Regions from separate parts of the Homo sapiens genome. Here regions 2, 3, 4 and 5 are each linked to region 1. Evidence: promoter capture Hi-C in human tissues and cell types (Jung and others, 2019). All regions are on one chromosome and are shown on one strand. Each heading gives the region's core, a stretch centred on a gene start or on the middle of the fragment in contact. The rest is flanking DNA. Distances are from core to core; before and after follow the strand shown. Region 1 holds the start of PTPRZ1 (protein tyrosine phosphatase receptor type Z1). Region 2 overlaps PTPRZ1 (protein tyrosine phosphatase receptor type Z1). Region 3 has its middle 130 kb from the start of PTPRZ1. Region 4 has its middle 230 kb from the start of PTPRZ1. Region 5 has its middle 230 kb from the start of FAM3C.

Region 1 (3,188 bases), core at 505-3,004:
GTTAAAATAGATCTACAATAGAAATGTGAATTCAACAGATGTTTGATGACCACGTACTTTTTAAAGCTGTCTTCCCCTCTCCAGAACTGACTATAAGGTTTTAGAATCAATGGAGACCAGAGATTCCCTTGCATGTCTTATGTGTCAACTATGCATCACACCACCCCAAGCACTTTCATAAAGCCTTTGAAATTTAAATTATGTCCGTGTGTGGGGGTCTATGGGCAATTATCACCGTATTTGCAATGTAATTTTCATTTATTAGAACTTAAAAATAGTTTCTGTTTGTAAAGGTTACTGTGCCAAGAGCAGCACCATCTATTGGATGAAAATGTACGCTTAATATCTACTCTACTATGAACCATCTAAAATTGAAAAATTGGGAGCCTCTGAAAAGAATTAAATATGTGTACTCACAAAGCGAAGTACAACACTTTGTAACTTTCAGGTTAATGCGTAAACCCATTATATTCTATCGCGATGGAAAATCATGAAGGAAAAAAAGCATTTCTTTAATAAAACGCAAAAGTCCAATCTTGCACTTCTCGAAAATGACTGGAAAACTTGAGTCTGCATCGCAGGTAAAGGGAATGCTTAAACTGGCTATTGCTGAATGCAATTTCAGTTTTAAATGTAACCTGGAGGGTGCAGATGAAAAATGAAATCTGTGAATAAGTATATCAACCTGCAGCTCTCCTCTGACTTTGGCAGCACTGACCAAACCTAGAGATTTAGATGGAACTTTTTTTTTTGTAAGTAATTGCGCAGACTTGAATATGACTAAATTGAAAGTAATAAAAAAAACCCTGAAAAGTCAGGTTGGTGCTTGTGCCTGTTACTACCTTTCAGGTGTGTGTGTGTGTGTGTGTGTGTGTCTGCAATTCACACCAGACACGTGTACTTTCCATTTAAGCCCATCATACCTATAGCATAAAAATGAACAGCAAAAAAGACAGTACAGTACACAGCCCCGCACCACAGCTGTATTTCTGGTCATTTATCTTCCTATGTATATCTAAAAGGCGATTTCTACACTTTGCAAAAGAGGAGAGAAGAACGGTGGCGGCAGGGATCCGAGTAGCCCTCCGTCTCCAGTAGCTCCGTCTCCTGGGGCCCGGGGCACGAATGCCCGCGGGCCGATGGAAGGGGCGAGGGCGCGGGGCGGGGAGGGGGCGCGCAAATCCCACGCAGCTGCCTGCACCGCGCGGCCGCCCGCTCCGTGGGAGCCCAGTTGGCTGTCCCTTTTTCCTCCTGGCTAGATGGCGGCGGCGGCGGCAAGTCGCGGACACGCTGAAATGCTCCCACCCTCATCCCACCGATCCCGGAGCTGAAACCCCACCGAGCTCTTCTCACTCACCCAGGCGGCAAACACAGAGGAGCTGAATGCAAGCGAGGAAACGCTTTAGGATTCGCATTTCCAGACGGTCTGCGGCCCCTCGCCGTGCGGCTCCTCTGCTTCTCAGAGTGGAGAGGGAGGGGGAGCGAAGGAAATGTTTTTTTTGTTTGTTTGTTTTAATCCTCCAGTGTATAGATCGAAGTGAGATCGTGCGTGCGTATGTGTGTTTGTGTGTGTGTGTGTGTGTGTGAGAGAGAGAGAGACAGAGACAGAGACAGAGAGAGACAGTCAGAGACAGCGAGAGAGGAATAATCTGGAGAAAGCCGCACGGTGGTGGGGCCCGGGGCCGCTAGCCGAGGCGCATGTCCTCCGGCGTGCGGGACTTTGCCTCTTTCGCCGGCTGCGGCGGCCGCGGTCTGAGCGCTCCGAGAGCAGCGAAGCCTCAGTGCCGGGTGCGCGCTCCAGCCCGGCTGTGCGCGCCGCGGCTCCTGGAGGGGGCGGGGGCGCAGGACCGCTCCGCTGGGAGCGTGCCTCGGACCCGGGGTCGCGCGGGGGGCGGAGGGGCGCGGCTGCCGCTCTGGGTCCGGATCCCAGGGTAGCAATTCACACACCGACAATCCTCCCTCTGTCCGCTGCCAGTGGTTTCGCTGCCCTGGAGTTAGAGGGATCCGCTGGGGTTTCCAGTGTTCGCAGAACATTGGAACTCCTTCATCACTTCGGAAGGGAAGGGAAGGGAAGGCCGGACACCCATTGTCCCGCACAGCCAGAGGTTGACCTTTGAGTTTCACCTCTAAGAGTTTTTTTCATTTTATTGTTTTCTGCAGATGCTTAAGTGGGTCCAATCAGAATGCGGTGGGGGCGCCTGGGTACATTGTTTCCCTCCCTTTTTTCTTTCCATTTTCCTAATAAAGCAGTAGACCCCATTGCCTTTGGGAGAGTTGACTCCAAAAAATCTCCAGCCCTGATTGTGACCAGTCTGACCCTGCCCTTTCCCTAGACCCCAACGAAACTGCCGTGCTGGGCACAGCTGTCTGGGGGGACTTTCAACACGGCGGTGGTCCTGCCAGACCGAACCACACAAGTGCCTCCTCCCACAGGGTCGAACGGGAAGATTTTTTATTGCTTGATTGAAGGGTATGCAAAAAATGTATAATGCATACCTTCTGCTGCCTTAGAGCTGGAAATGTCACCCTCATGTGCTCTTTTCTTTGGTGGTGTTCAGAATTAGACTGTGAGCGCCTTGATGGCAGGGAGTTTACCTTTATTACTATAACCCCAGATCCTAGCAAAATGGCCTTAAAAAAAATCAATAGGTGTTCCCTGAATATTTGTTGAATTAATTTGAAGCCAAAAGGAAATAATGAGAAGGTAATTGGTGGTAGTCTCTACACTGAAAATTTATGAGATTTTCATTTATATGATATCCTTTAACTATTAGTACATGTTTTTCGTATATGAGACCCACTTTAGAGCCTTTTAGGAGTCCCATCTAAGGCACAGAAAGCCAAGTTGTGGAATTATCCCATGTATTCTTAGTAACAATTTGAAGTAGGTATCTGTACAGTGTATACTCTTGTGTCCTGTTCTTGTCTCAAAAATAGTATTCTAGCTTTAAAAATTTTAAAGAAAACTTCCTGCACATAAAATTGGGTTCTGAATGTATTTCAAGTGTTACTACGAGTTCTTGCTAATATCCCAGCCTGTGAACATTTGGCTAAATGTGCAAGCTAATGGCAGTTTGCTGTTGCTTCAGGAATAGATTATAGTCATGTAATAACAGATTTTGAAACCATTTAGTGTTTATTCAGAAACACATATCAATATTAAGAAGTTGATCCTTGATCTTATTCTT
Region 2 (3,241 bases), core at 305-2,804, 130 kb before region 1:
TAAGCATAATCTTCATTGCATGGAAGATTCAATATATGTATATATATACATATACGTATATATACATAAAACTGGGTATATTATATCTAATTATATACTTAGAAAACTCAATTGCCAAAGTTATCAAGTTTTTTTTTTTTTTTTAGTTCATGTGGGACATGATTTTGTCAGTATCTTTGTACCCAACAGCTTGTTAGAATTGTCATTTATTTGATCATCTATTAGATATTTTAAGGCCATGTTCCTTAAAAGAAAAAAATTACTGAGTACAGCCATTGAGAACTTGACCAGTATCAGTAGAAAGAATCTGAATCTTAAGCTGTGTGTGCTCATGAGCATGTGTCATACACACGGAAATCTGCACTGTATGAAACACACGATTCCAAGCTTAATGGCTGCCTCATTATTTACAGCTTAATTATTTGGCTGGTCGTGAGTATCTTCTGAAGCATAAGTGACAACTTTAGGAAGTTAGTGCACTTGATCTGAATTATATTGAGTGCTAAAAATGGCTACTCTCTCAGATTCCCTTGAAAAATTTCCTTACAAGTAGTCAGTATTCTTTATGAAGTTTTACATTCTGTGTGATACCTTGTTCACAAGGACCACCTGAGAGATTTTCCCAAATAATTTCCTAAATAAAATATTCCTATAATCTACAAACCTAAAAACTTAATGCAAAAGGAAATGAGAATAATTTGCCTTGACTTGCTTTTAGGGAAAATTGGTTGGTGCCAATTATCTCTTCTTTCCTTAGAAGTTCTCATAAATATTTGTTTTATAATGTGATGCAGAGTTTTGCTGGGGATCAATGTTAAGCTTGGCAGTGTGGAGTTTCTAAACTCTTCCTTGTTTTTGCAAACCTAAATATTTGCCTAGTTTTCTGGTATCACTCCACACTCCTTCTCTCTACCAAAACTCTGTCAAACCTTCATTTTCCTATCCTTTCCTCCCATTCTCAGCAGATGGCCTTCCTGTTTTCAGGGAAAATAGAAGCCACCAAAGACACACTTCTTCTTAACATAAAAACAGGGACCAACCAAGTTATCTCTGCCCCTCCTGTCCTGTTATAACTAAAGAGTTGTTTTCCTTCCTTTCTAAAGCTAATTCGCACTTCTGTGTTTTAGATCTAGTCCCTATCATGAACCTGGGAATTGAACATAATTGAGTAGTTCAGTCTATTTTGTGTTTCTGATTTGTTTTCTCAAATTCTCAAACAGATAATTCTCATCAGCTTAAATCAACTCTGATCTCTCTTATTTAAAGGAAACACAAAGGAAAACCTCTAATTCACCTTCTAGTTATCATTCTACTTCTCGTCTCTCCTTCACAGCAAAAGTTCCCCAAAGATATGTCATCCATTTTCTCTATATGATCTAACAATGTCTATTGACTTCCACAATAATATTACATTTCTTTCTCTTTGCTTATATTTCCACATAAACATCCTTTATCATATCCTCCTATAAGCAATGTAAATTTTCATAAAATTTTTATTGTAACATAATGCTACACACCTCTTCTTATTACATAGTTGGGAAAAAACTATGCACACATCAGATACATATGCGTTCTATAAACTTTATGAGGTTCAGAACCTCTCAGAACCCAGTGAGGGTGATTAGACCTTCATTAATCCTACCCTACCATATCTTGTTGATCGCTGTAAGGTCACATTGGCTATGTCAACATTTTAAGAAGAACATATCATTCATACCCTATGATTACTTTATTCATATCTGACTACAAATATTTTAACAAATACTCTTTCCTACAATTTCTTTATAGAGTTATTGTGACTCTTCCACTGTAGTTTTGATCTGTGTCATATGTTATCCTTCACAACTTCATTTTTAAAAGTTAGTGTAAAGCCATGATCATGCTACAGATACTTTGTCTTGCAAAGTCATACATTTCTGTTTGGAGAGGATCTAAGAAATATCCTTCAAACTCTTTATTTCTATATTCAGGGATTAAAAGTCATTATGAATATATTCCATGCATTTTCCAGCCTGTCATTCATTCCTGCATGAAGCAAAGGAAGTGAATAGTGGATTGGTTAAGAAGTGTTTTCATCCCATCTCATAATCATGCTCCAGGAAGACATATTGTGACATGGGTCTCTTTCGATTTGACAATATATTATTAATACAATAGTTAATTTCAATAGCAAGAACTACTACCAATTTACCAAGCCAAGCTTACCAATCACTGCTCCTGTATCCTTTATTTTAAATCCCCATCTGTGTGGTGGTAGCTGGTTCCCTCCCCCTTGGCAGTGCCAAGGATTCTTCCAGCTCAAAGAATTAGAGCTGCTGTTTCTTTGGGTACTACCACCATGGGTAAAGCCCCACAAACCAAATAAGCCTAATGTCATAAGAATTCTTTCTCCTCCTCATTTTCCTCTAGATCATAGCCTTCTACCAACAAGTAATGACATTGATTTTTAATTCTACTCTGCTTTCTCAGGTGACTCCTTCCTCAGTGTGTTGTATATTCTCATTTTGCTTTCCACAGCCTCTCTCCACCTGTCTCCATTCATTCTAGGCGGGTGGCCAGATAATGTGGTTATTCCTTGGGAGGTTCCTTACCTAACTGGTCACCACAGGATGGTGCTGTCTCATTACAGAGGCCACAGCATCTGCTGTGCCATTCTCTCTGCACCTTCTCCTTGCCCTCTTGCCTTTCAGTTTAGATGTAACAACGAGTCCCTGATATAATTCATACCAAATGTACAATGCCACCCCTTGTTTGTTTGCATTAAGACTTCCCACACCTGTGAATCATCCTTTTTGATTAAATTAACCTCCATGACTCCACTTGAGTGTGGCATCTGTTTCCTGTTGAGACCTGGGCTGATGCACTGAGGCTTTTTTTTTCCTCCTATCTAGGAACTTTTCTCTGACTACAACAAGCCAGCCTGCTCACATATCTTCACATTCTTCTCTAACAGGAAGATCTGCTTGTGTTTGTCATATATGTACATGGCAAGACCAGAGGCACCATGACAGGAATAGCTTTAGGTATCTCTATTGTAGAGTGTATGACAAAAATAAAGATATACCTCCATTATGTAAGTGGAATAAGCCAGGAACAGAAAGATAAATACTGCATGTTCTCACTCTTATGTGGAAGCTAAAAAAGTTGATCTAATAGAAGTAGAGTGTAGAATAGTGGTTATTAGAGGCTGAGAAATGTAGTGGCGAGGGGGCGACAGGCAGAGATTGGTTAAATGATACAA
Region 3 (2,998 bases), core at 244-2,743, 130 kb after region 1:
CAAACGTTTTGTCATAAAAATTATATTTAATTAAAATATAGATTAAAAACTAGGACCAGCTTTTAGTAACCGGTATTACAAGCATCAAACATCTTGAATTTTCCCGATTCTCAAAAGATATGATTTAACCAGCAAGATGAACCTCCTTGGGGCAGACTGAATCAGCTCTTGAAAACTCAGTGAGCCATGCTGTTGCCATTCATGGTCGTCCCCATTAACTTTCCTTTTAGAATTAGGTCAGGCATGAGCATTGGCTGTGTAAGATACAAAATATCCTGGAAATAGTCAGGATAATTGTTGGTGAAGTGTTACTACATCCACTCTTGCCCCTCTCTTCTTTCCTTCTTTTTGTATAGTGTTTTTTTTTTTCTCTCCACTGATATATTAAGGCTTGCCTATGAAGCCCGAGGCGTTAATTCACTCTGAGAGTCAAGTTAGTTTAAATATCCCTGTTATAACCTTACAACCCACTGGAATCAGGGACCCTATCAATGTGCCTTGACCACCTATGGTGGTATCTAGTGCCTAGCAGAAAGCCTGCCATATTAACACTCAGTAACTCAACAACTCAACAAAGCATGTTAAATGTGAATGAAAATGCTTTTATTAGGCAGTTAACGCATTTGAAACACTGGCTGGGCTCTGTGCTTCTTTTAAAAAATTTTGTAAATATGGCTGAAAATTTATACATTTAACTCAGAGTGTGTATAATCATATCGTGTATACACACATATATCTACTATATATCACATATATATCTACTATATATGTGATATATAGTAGACACATCTACTATATATGTAGATATATGTAGTAGATATATAGTATATATATCTACATATATATGTAGATATATAGTATATATATCTACTATATATGTAGATATATAGTATATATATCTACTATATATGTAGATATATAGTATATATATCTACTATATATGTAGATATATAGTAGATATACCATATCTTATATATATTTTATATATACTATATATTAAAGTAGATATGATATATAGTAGATATATCATATATATGACATATATAGTAGATATATGTGTGTATATACTATATATAGTATATATATACTATATATAGACATACACATATATTACATATATAGTTGTGTGTATACATTTAATTAAAATATAGATAAAACTATATATGTGTGTGTGTGTGTATATATATATATATAGAGAGAGAGAGAGAGAGACAGTGTACCATATTTTATTTCAATCTGTAGTAGGGGTGCAGGGTGGGAGGAATGAGGACAACTTTCCAAATAAAATAAATTGCCTCACATAGTTACGATTTTTGTGATGAGAATACTTTACATCACTCTCTTAGCACGTTGCAAGAATACAATATATTATTAACTGTAGTCACCACTTTGCACAATATATCTCTTGAACTTATTTCTCCTATTTAACTGAAATTTTGTATCCTTTGCCCAACCCCCATGCTCCCCAACCACCTCAGCCTCTGGTAACCACCATTCTACTCTCTACTTTTATGAGATCAACTTTCTTAGATGCCACATCTGAGTGAGATCATACGGTATTTGTCTTACTGTGCCTGGCTTATTCAAAATATCATGTTGTATGCAGTAAATAGCTACAATTTTATCTGTTAAAAAAATCTTAAAGCAAGTTAGTGTTTCCCACCATATTACCATCCCTTTTTGTGGAAGGTGTAAATACTTCATCTTTCCTATTTTCTTCTATCTCTTCCTTTTCCAGATGGACTCTAAATAAGGAAGTTAAGTTTTATGTGCCTTCTTGTGATGAAGATGGATCCTCACACTTATACTGTGCTTTAAGGTAACGCAGGCTCTTATGTTGAAGTCCACAGCTGTGAAATATTGGTGAAGCTCCCATGTTGTTTGGCCATCTCTGTTGCCTCAGCCCAACCTTGCCTCTAACTGTGTTGTCAATCACAGTTGGGCTGTGGCTGGGCTGAAATTCCCACTCAGCACATTCATTTCGGGCATCTCATCTGCTAACCACCATTTTTATTCTGATGTGACAGCCCCGTTTTGTTTTCCTCTGAGGTAATTTCCTTCCAGTGTCTGAACAAAGAAGTTGGGTTAAAGGTTTCCCCATATCCCCTTTGACTGATTCTCCTTTTAAAACCTAATCCTTGCTCTCCGGTGCATGCTTTAGGTTTGAATCGTGAGGTTTGGGGGGCGGGGTTGGAATTTAGGTCACTGCCTGACCACTGTTTTCACTCCCTGTTCCCTTTCCTCCTCCTCCTCTAGGTCCAGAAAAGTTTTCTTGTTTTTCTTTTTCCTTTTTTTTTTTTTCGCCTTTACTGTATGTCAGTGACTTCTCCTAATGTCATATCCTCCTCATTCTGGGGGTAGCATCAAGGGAACACGATTTACACAGAGAAATAAGAACACATAAATTTAATATTTTCCAAGTATTATATATATGCTATTCATTTTACCCAAGAGAAAGCTAAAGCTGAAAGAGGTTAAAGTAAGTTGCTTGCAAAATAACAGAGCCTAGATACAAAGCCTGGCTATAAAGTATTATGATAACACTATGTAGTTTGGAGTTTCTGAGTGTTTTAATCCAAAATTAGGAGCTTATCTCTCTTTGCAATTTTATCGCCAGATATTGCTTCTTATCAAATTAGATCAAATTAAAAACTTAATTTGATAGCACTTCCTTTGTTTTTTATTTTTTTAGACGGAGTCTCACTCTGTCGCCAGGCTGGAGTGCAGTGGCACAATCTTGGCACACTGCAGCCTCCACCTCCCGGATTTAAGCAATTCTCCTGCCTCAGCCTCCTGAGTATCTGGGACTACAGGTGCGTGCTGCCATGCCTGGCTAATTTTTCTGTATTTTTAGTAGAGACGGGGTTTCACCATGTTGGCCAGGACGGTCTTGATCTTCTGACCTCGTGATCCTCCCGCCTGGGCCTCCCAAAGTGCTGGGATTACAAGCATGAGCCACTGCGCCCAGCCAATTTGATAGCCCTTTCTTAATCCCTTA
Region 4 (3,372 bases), core at 11-2,510, 230 kb after region 1:
CTTTCCCCTTAATACATACTTAAATTTATTATATCTATCTGCATATTTGCATACTCACTGTCTGTTTTTCTCATATTAGAAAATGCCAAACTTCTTGAAAACAAAAGTAATGGTTAATATTGAATCCACAGTGGTATCCCCTATCCAAGAATCCACTATATGTCTAAGATACATTTGCTGAATCCCTGAGTAATCAATGCTCCCAGCTCAAACACCAGCATTTATTTTAGCTACCTGGAGAAATGTCCTTCCTCATGATTTTTTCTCAAGATTAAACTGTGGTGTAATTCCAAGTTTTAGATATTGTTCACTTTTAAAGCCTCTGTGAACACACAAGGAGAAAAAATGGGGAGAAAGAGTTTGTACATTTTGGCAGCACTAATTCTGTCCTTCCATTTTTTTTTTTAAAAGTACATTACCACTCAGAAATTTTGTTTTTTTTTTGTTTTGAATCATTTTACCCTTTTTTCTCTCTATTGTCTCTTCTATAGCTTTGCTTTTCTAATAACCACTCCTTTCTTTGAAAGAAAAATTATAAACTGAGCAGGTGTTCAGTCATATTTGGATAATTTTCTTCCATTCACTGCTTCCTCAAAAATATTTCATCCTAGATTCTTAATTGAATCATGTCATCTATTCATTTATTATTCATAGAACAAAACATGATTGTTACATCTGAACCAGCCATGCAGTGAGTTGCATCAGTTTTTAAATAGTTTGAAGTGAATGAATCGGCTAAAATGAAGTGAATGCACTTCAGCATATGTTGACACTGCCGAAATCAGTGGGCACCGAGCAGCTGCTTAAAAAATGACAGTGGTACAGCCCTGAAAGTGATATTTGTAGGAATGATAGCCATTCAATCTTTTTCCTTCAGTATTATGCAGTGATACAGTTTGGATGTTTGTCCCCTCCAAATCTCATGTTGCAATGCAATCCCCAGTGTTGGCGGTGGAGCCTGGTGGGAGGTGGTTTTGTCATAGTGGTGGATCCCTCATGAATAGCTTGATGCTGTCCTTGTGATAGAAATAGTAAGATAGTTCTTACTCTGAGTTCATATGAGATCTGGTTGTTTAAAAGTGCGTGGCACCCCCTGACTTGTTCTCTTCTTCCTGCTTTCCCTATGTGATGTGTTGGTTCATCTTCACCTTCTGCTATGACTGTAAGTTCCCTGAGGCTCTAGCCAGAAGCAGATGCTAGCACACTTCCTGTACAACCTGCAGAACCATGAGCCAATTAAACCTCTTTTCTTTATAAGTTACTCTGTTCTGGTTACTTCTTTATAGCAAGGCAAGAAGGCCTGACACGTTCAATGTGCTCTAACCTCCTGCCAAGTAGTGTGCAAGGTTCAAGAGATGGAAAATTGGAAGCGAAAGTCCTTGGAGAAGCTCTCATTCAACTGAAAGCAAATATGGTAAGAGATAATTTTCTCTACAATGTGATTAGAACTATGATGTGATATAAATAAAATGTTGGAAGTGTTCACAGATGACATAATATGTTTCCCTTGTTTCTTCTGTTGCTATTACTCAGTGCTACAAACTTCATTTTTTTTCCTACTGTTTTTAGGAACAGATAAGAAGGCAAGAAAAGGATCATCACAAATATAGCCTGACTGGATGCTGTTTAGAGCAGTAGCTATTCTATATCCTCACATTCTCAGGTTCTATAATCTGAAAATAGCTAAATAAAAATAATAGCTGAGCCCAAACCACTGAGGTTGGTGTCAATTCTTTCATTACAAGAAACTATCTCAGGGGCTGTTGAATAAAAATAATGATTTTATTTTATTCCCCCCCCAAACCCATTAAAACACTAATAAAGGGAATTTTAAAATATACAAACTCAAAAAAAGATGTGAAGGATTGTAGAAAAGAGAATAGCAACAAAAGTTTGGACCAAAAGAAAATAAATAAGTGAATTTAAAAGACCCCCCCCACCCACCTACCCCAAATAAATTCTATATTCATATCTTCCAAACTTTCAGAAATTGATGGTACCATCCTCTGAAAGTGGAGAACGGTTGAAACTCTATTTGATAATAAGTAAGTCTATACATCCATCACCTCCAGCAAAATAAATAAGCAAATAAAATAACTGACTTTTATTCTCAAATACAGGATTTTTGGACTTCCAATATGAGAAAAGATATCTTTGGAAAGATAAAACTGACAGCATACCTGATACATTCGAATGTATGGAGATGAGCAAGACATATGCCAATGAGATTGAGATTGAATTATTGAGAAGTACATAGAAAGTACATAGTACACCAAATAATTGGCAGCAGCAACGAGGCCAACAACAAAACAATAAATACCAAGAAATAAAAGCTGTGTGTAGGAAAAAAATTAGCAGGGGTAATACATCCATATATCATAAATTGTATTTGCACAGTTATATAAACACAAAATATTTATACAAAATTAATATGAAATGTATATAAATAAAATAAAATTATGTTGGAGGATGAAAGTAAAAAAGTTACCATTCAGAGGTAACAGTAAAGAAAATAGAGTTAAAATTTTTCTTTTCCAAAGAGAAAATTTTATTCTGGTCAGTAAGCACAGCCTAAGACAGGAACATCATGAAAGGACGTATCAAGCATATGATTCAGGGACATAGGGGTTAATTTCAAAATAAATATGAAAATTGATGAAAGGATTGCTTCTGAAAAGAAGAAATACGTGTGTTTGGGTGGGGGTGGTTCTGGGATTTTTTTCTTATAAAACTACCAGATTATTTGACCTTTAAACTAAGTGTATGACAAAAATAATTAAAGAACCAAAAAGAACTTTTGCAATACCCATGCTGTTCATTTGTCATTTGCTTCCTTCTTGACACAGCCTATTCTTTCTAATAAGAGAAAAAGTCTATTAATTTTCTTTCTTTATCATTCTTAACTACTTCAAAGGAATTATTGAATTTTAGAAACTTGAAGCATGATGTTAGCTATAATAGGGATTTAAATTTGTTTCCAAAAGGTTATATGTATGTTAGAAAATTTCAGGTGACACATATTAATAATGCAACAAGCTGCATAAGAAAAGAGCACCAAGGCTTTGATGTTCCCTACCAAATTTGATGACCCCCAGCAATTCTGATAAAGATTTGATATTAAAGCATGATTAGTACTAGATATTCATATAGTTGGTTTCTGACTATATAAATATCAGAAACATGGAGAAGAGAATGGGAGAAGGAATGAATGCAGCAGACTCAAAAATTCCACAGAAATACTTTCACTGGTGAAGACCCATAATACCTTCACAATTTGTCATCAGTCTTTCCTATGAAACATTTGTGCTAAAAAGTAAAAGCTTTGTATGAATTCCAAATTATTTGTTTAACCTAAAACCAAACTGCCTCATA
Region 5 (3,306 bases), core at 533-3,032, 250 kb after region 1:
GAAAGCTGTGTTAATGAAATGCAGTGTCGATTTTTTGGGCTGGTGATTTTGGGTTCATTAGCAAAGAAACATAGAGGGTTTCCTGCTCAAAACCCTTATGCTGAGAATTAGATGACCTCCATGAAACAGGCTCAGCAAATTCCCATGACGTCAGTCCACTGGGCAGTTTTCCGAGGCAGCACATCATGGCTGTGCCTTCTTAGCAATATTCCCACAAAGTGGAGAAAAGGTTGAGGGGGAGCAACTCTGCCCCTGCTGTCCACAAAATAAATAATTGAATCACATTGAGCCAGTCTAGCAGTACTGTGAGCTTTTCTCTAATAAAAAACAATTTTGATATTTTTTTCCGTGGAAATATATTTTTCTGATTCTTTCCAGATCAAATTTATACATACTCAGCTATTTAGATCCTAAAACGGAAGTTTAGAGTCAGGTGATGAGGCACAGAGCATCATTTCCTGGGAAGGCATGCATCCACTGGAACATAGATTAAGCTAAAAAAGGAGTGTGGAGGAGGTAGAGCACCAGCCAGGCTGGACTTCATGTTCTGTGAAGACCCTGGTTTATTATTACTACAGACACAGCTAATGCTTGTACCCAGTATTGTCTGCATTCTTTCCTATATTAGGAAACTTGAAAACTAGCAGAAGATAAAGTCAAAAGATTGCATAGGAACCCAAACTTGGTTTCCTTGAGAGAGGAGAGAATTTTGGATTAAGTAGATAAAAAAGCAGTAAGAATATTCTTCTTACTGTGGACTACTGCTATTCAATTTCTGTTCAGCTCTATTGAGTACATTGTTGAAGTGATTTATTCCCCACTTAGACTGTAAGCTCTTTAAGGTTAATATTTATCTTAAATACTCTATATCTGGAACACTTAGCACACAGTGACTGACATATTATAAATGTTTGATTGCTCACCTAAAATAATTTTTTATTTCATTTATTAATTTTGGTAAGTGAAGCAATTGTTCATCAGCCAATTTATTTTTCTTTCCTTCCCTCTGAGATTATATCTTGGCCTTCTGATCCACCCAGAAATACTATCATTGGATTCCTAAGAGATCCACTTTAAACCATATCAGCCCTTGAGGCTTTCTTTCAAAGAAAAGTCAGAAAGGCACTGAGTTGAACATTGGCAGTGTCTATCTAACAATTGTCCAGTGGAGGTGGCCATAGCCAAAGGACTCCAGGCATTCTGGGTTCATTCTCAAGACAATATCTACTGTGTAGCTAAATGCATTAGACTACCTGACTCCTATTCTCCTAGCTAGCTTTCTTTTCTGTGATTCTATATTTACTAAGCAGTCTTGTAATTATTATTTAGCTTTCCATGTAGTTCTTCCTGCAAGAAAAGAATGTGCTGCCAATATACACTATAATCTCTTCCCACAAATTAACAAATTAATATTCAAGGTTTATACATCAGTTTTGAAGTTTTATATAAGTTTGCCCCTGAGATGTGGGCAGGAGTGCTAAACAAAAGAACAAAGTAAAAGGAAAAAGAAAATGTCAAGTTTGTGAGCTGCAAGACTGAGAAACAGATCTAGCCTTCAGAAATGATCAAAGGAACAGTGGCCATCAAGTGGTTAGGTGAGGTCTTCTGGGACATAGCCTGGAGGCTTTTCCCCCAAGATGAGCACATACTTATCAGTTCATGCGCTTTCCATATACTTGACACACACTATGGTATTTCTCTAAAAGACGTTAATGACATTGCATTTTCTGCCATTTAGCTTCTTGGTCCCAAACATAGATTTGATTACTGGCTTGTCAAAAGCAATCTGTCTGAAATGCATTGGCTGTATATCTGGCTAGTTAAGAAATGGACATTTGAGTGGTCATTTCTACAGTCACCATACAATACCACTGCACAGCTCACCCAATCATTTCAGCCTCATTCATCATCTATACACGATGCTATGCGATTGCTTTGGAGTATAAGGAGAAACTTGACAGAATATATGATTATTTATGGTCTTACCAGTGCTCTAGCCTAGCTGCTTATCTGTGAATGATGAGCACTACACTGAATGGCTGACTCATTCATTTTACTCATTTTAACAATCCACGAGTGGGACTGATCAGCAGAAAAGCACACGAAACTTCCAGATCATCAGGATGCCTTTATGGGAGTATAGTTAAAGTTTTTACTATTCTGCTCTTCTAAGTTTTAGTTTCCAAATGGCCGCCACCAAACTTACTTTATTTATGCCTTACAGAATTTGTTGTTTATCCTCATGGTAGGTGAGGCAGGTAAGGTAAATATTATTTTAATTTGATTGTTGAAGAATGTAGCTTAGAAAGGTTAAATAATTATGGTAAGTCAAACACAGTTAATATAAGACAGAGCTGGAATCTGAAGCCAGATCTAATCGTCTATGAAAATATAATTCATGCATTAGTTCAAACTTTAAAACAGAGGTTCTTGCATTTTAGTGTACTATACTTAAGAATCATCTGGGACCCTGACTAGATATTGAACTAGTCCAAGCTACTAATTCCTTTTTCCCAAAACAGCTATGGTGAAACAACAAACAGAAACAAAGCAGGAAAAAAAAAAAAAAAAAAAAAAAAGAGGAAAACGTGGATCTAAGAATCTAACAAAAACCTGTGACAAACTTTTGGGGAAAACAAGGCGCTTGGGTTGAGAGGTACAGTACAGATATAACAATAGTAAGATTGGTTGGATAACAACTTTTAAATTACTTGAATTCAGCAGAAAATAGAAAAAGAAAGCTAGGAAATATGGAGTACAGCTGTAGAAGTGCCAAAACTGAGATAATAGAAGTTACAATGAAAAAGAAAAGGAATAAGGCAAGAAGAGACTATTTGAGAAATAATGAGGATAAGTTTTGTTGAAAGACTTAAGACTGCAAGGCCTTAAGGGGACATAGGAAAGATAAGGAAAACCTCACAGCCAGACATAGTATTATGAAATTTCAAAATATGAAAGAAAATCTAAAATTTTCCGAAATAACAGAAAAATCCTTAGAAGGAGGATTTGCTAGGTCTAAGAACATATGCATTTATAGTATTAATTGATAGCACCATGTTATTCTCTGTAAGAATTGCACTAATTTACACTCCCAGCAACAAAGTATAAGAAATGCCTGTTTGCCTTCAGTCTAGCCAACGCAGCACGTTATCAGGCTGGAATTTTTGACATTTTGATAAGTGGTATTTCAGTATGTTTTAAATTTACAATGATCTCATTATGAGCAAAGTTTAACATATTTTCACATGTTTAGAAACCATTTGGTATGTATGTCATTTAATATAAACCGCCTGTTCATATCATTGA

What was found. The method cuts DNA at HindIII sites, captures the fragments that hold promoters and counts their contacts. A contact is called where the count stands out against the background at its distance.
Region 2: a contact is called between a fragment that was not itself captured here and the fragment with the promoter of PTPRZ1 in region 1, in 2 of the 25 tissues and cell types used here (H1 embryonic stem cells and adrenal gland).
Region 3: a contact is called between a fragment that was not itself captured here and the fragment with the promoter of PTPRZ1 in region 1, in 1 of the 25 tissues and cell types used here (hippocampus).
Region 4: a contact is called between a fragment that was not itself captured here and the fragment with the promoter of PTPRZ1 in region 1, in 2 of the 25 tissues and cell types used here (H1 embryonic stem cells and dorsolateral prefrontal cortex).
Region 5: a contact is called between a fragment that was not itself captured here and the fragment with the promoter of PTPRZ1 in region 1, in 2 of the 25 tissues and cell types used here (H1 embryonic stem cells and hippocampus).

Annotation. Positions count from the first base shown.
Region 1 is chr7:121,871,727-121,874,914 of GRCh38, reverse strand. PTPRZ1 (protein tyrosine phosphatase receptor type Z1) reads right to left here and starts at 1,754. Exons shown (of 30, transcript NM_002851.3): 1 at 1,358-1,754. The coding sequence starts at 1,415. RefSeq lists an enhancer at 1,297-1,798. The HindIII fragment of the contact is 8,425 bases long and covers 1-3,188 here.
Region 2 is chr7:122,006,361-122,009,601 of GRCh38, reverse strand. All of the region lies in intron 11 of PTPRZ1 (protein tyrosine phosphatase receptor type Z1), which reads right to left. Among named protein-coding and RNA genes, the nearest start is that of PTPRZ1, 130 kb to the right of the region's middle. The HindIII fragment of the contact is 3,900 bases long and covers 1-3,241 here.
Region 3 is chr7:121,738,596-121,741,593 of GRCh38, reverse strand. No RefSeq gene overlaps it. Among named protein-coding and RNA genes, the nearest start is that of PTPRZ1, 130 kb to the left of the region's middle. The HindIII fragment of the contact is 5,727 bases long and covers 1-2,998 here.
Region 4 is chr7:121,641,673-121,645,044 of GRCh38, reverse strand. No RefSeq gene overlaps it. Among named protein-coding and RNA genes, the nearest start is that of PTPRZ1, 230 kb to the left of the region's middle. The HindIII fragment of the contact is 6,391 bases long and covers 1-3,372 here.
Region 5 is chr7:121,621,989-121,625,294 of GRCh38, reverse strand. No RefSeq gene overlaps it. Among named protein-coding and RNA genes, the nearest start is that of FAM3C, 230 kb to the right of the region's middle. The HindIII fragment of the contact is 9,273 bases long and covers 1-3,306 here.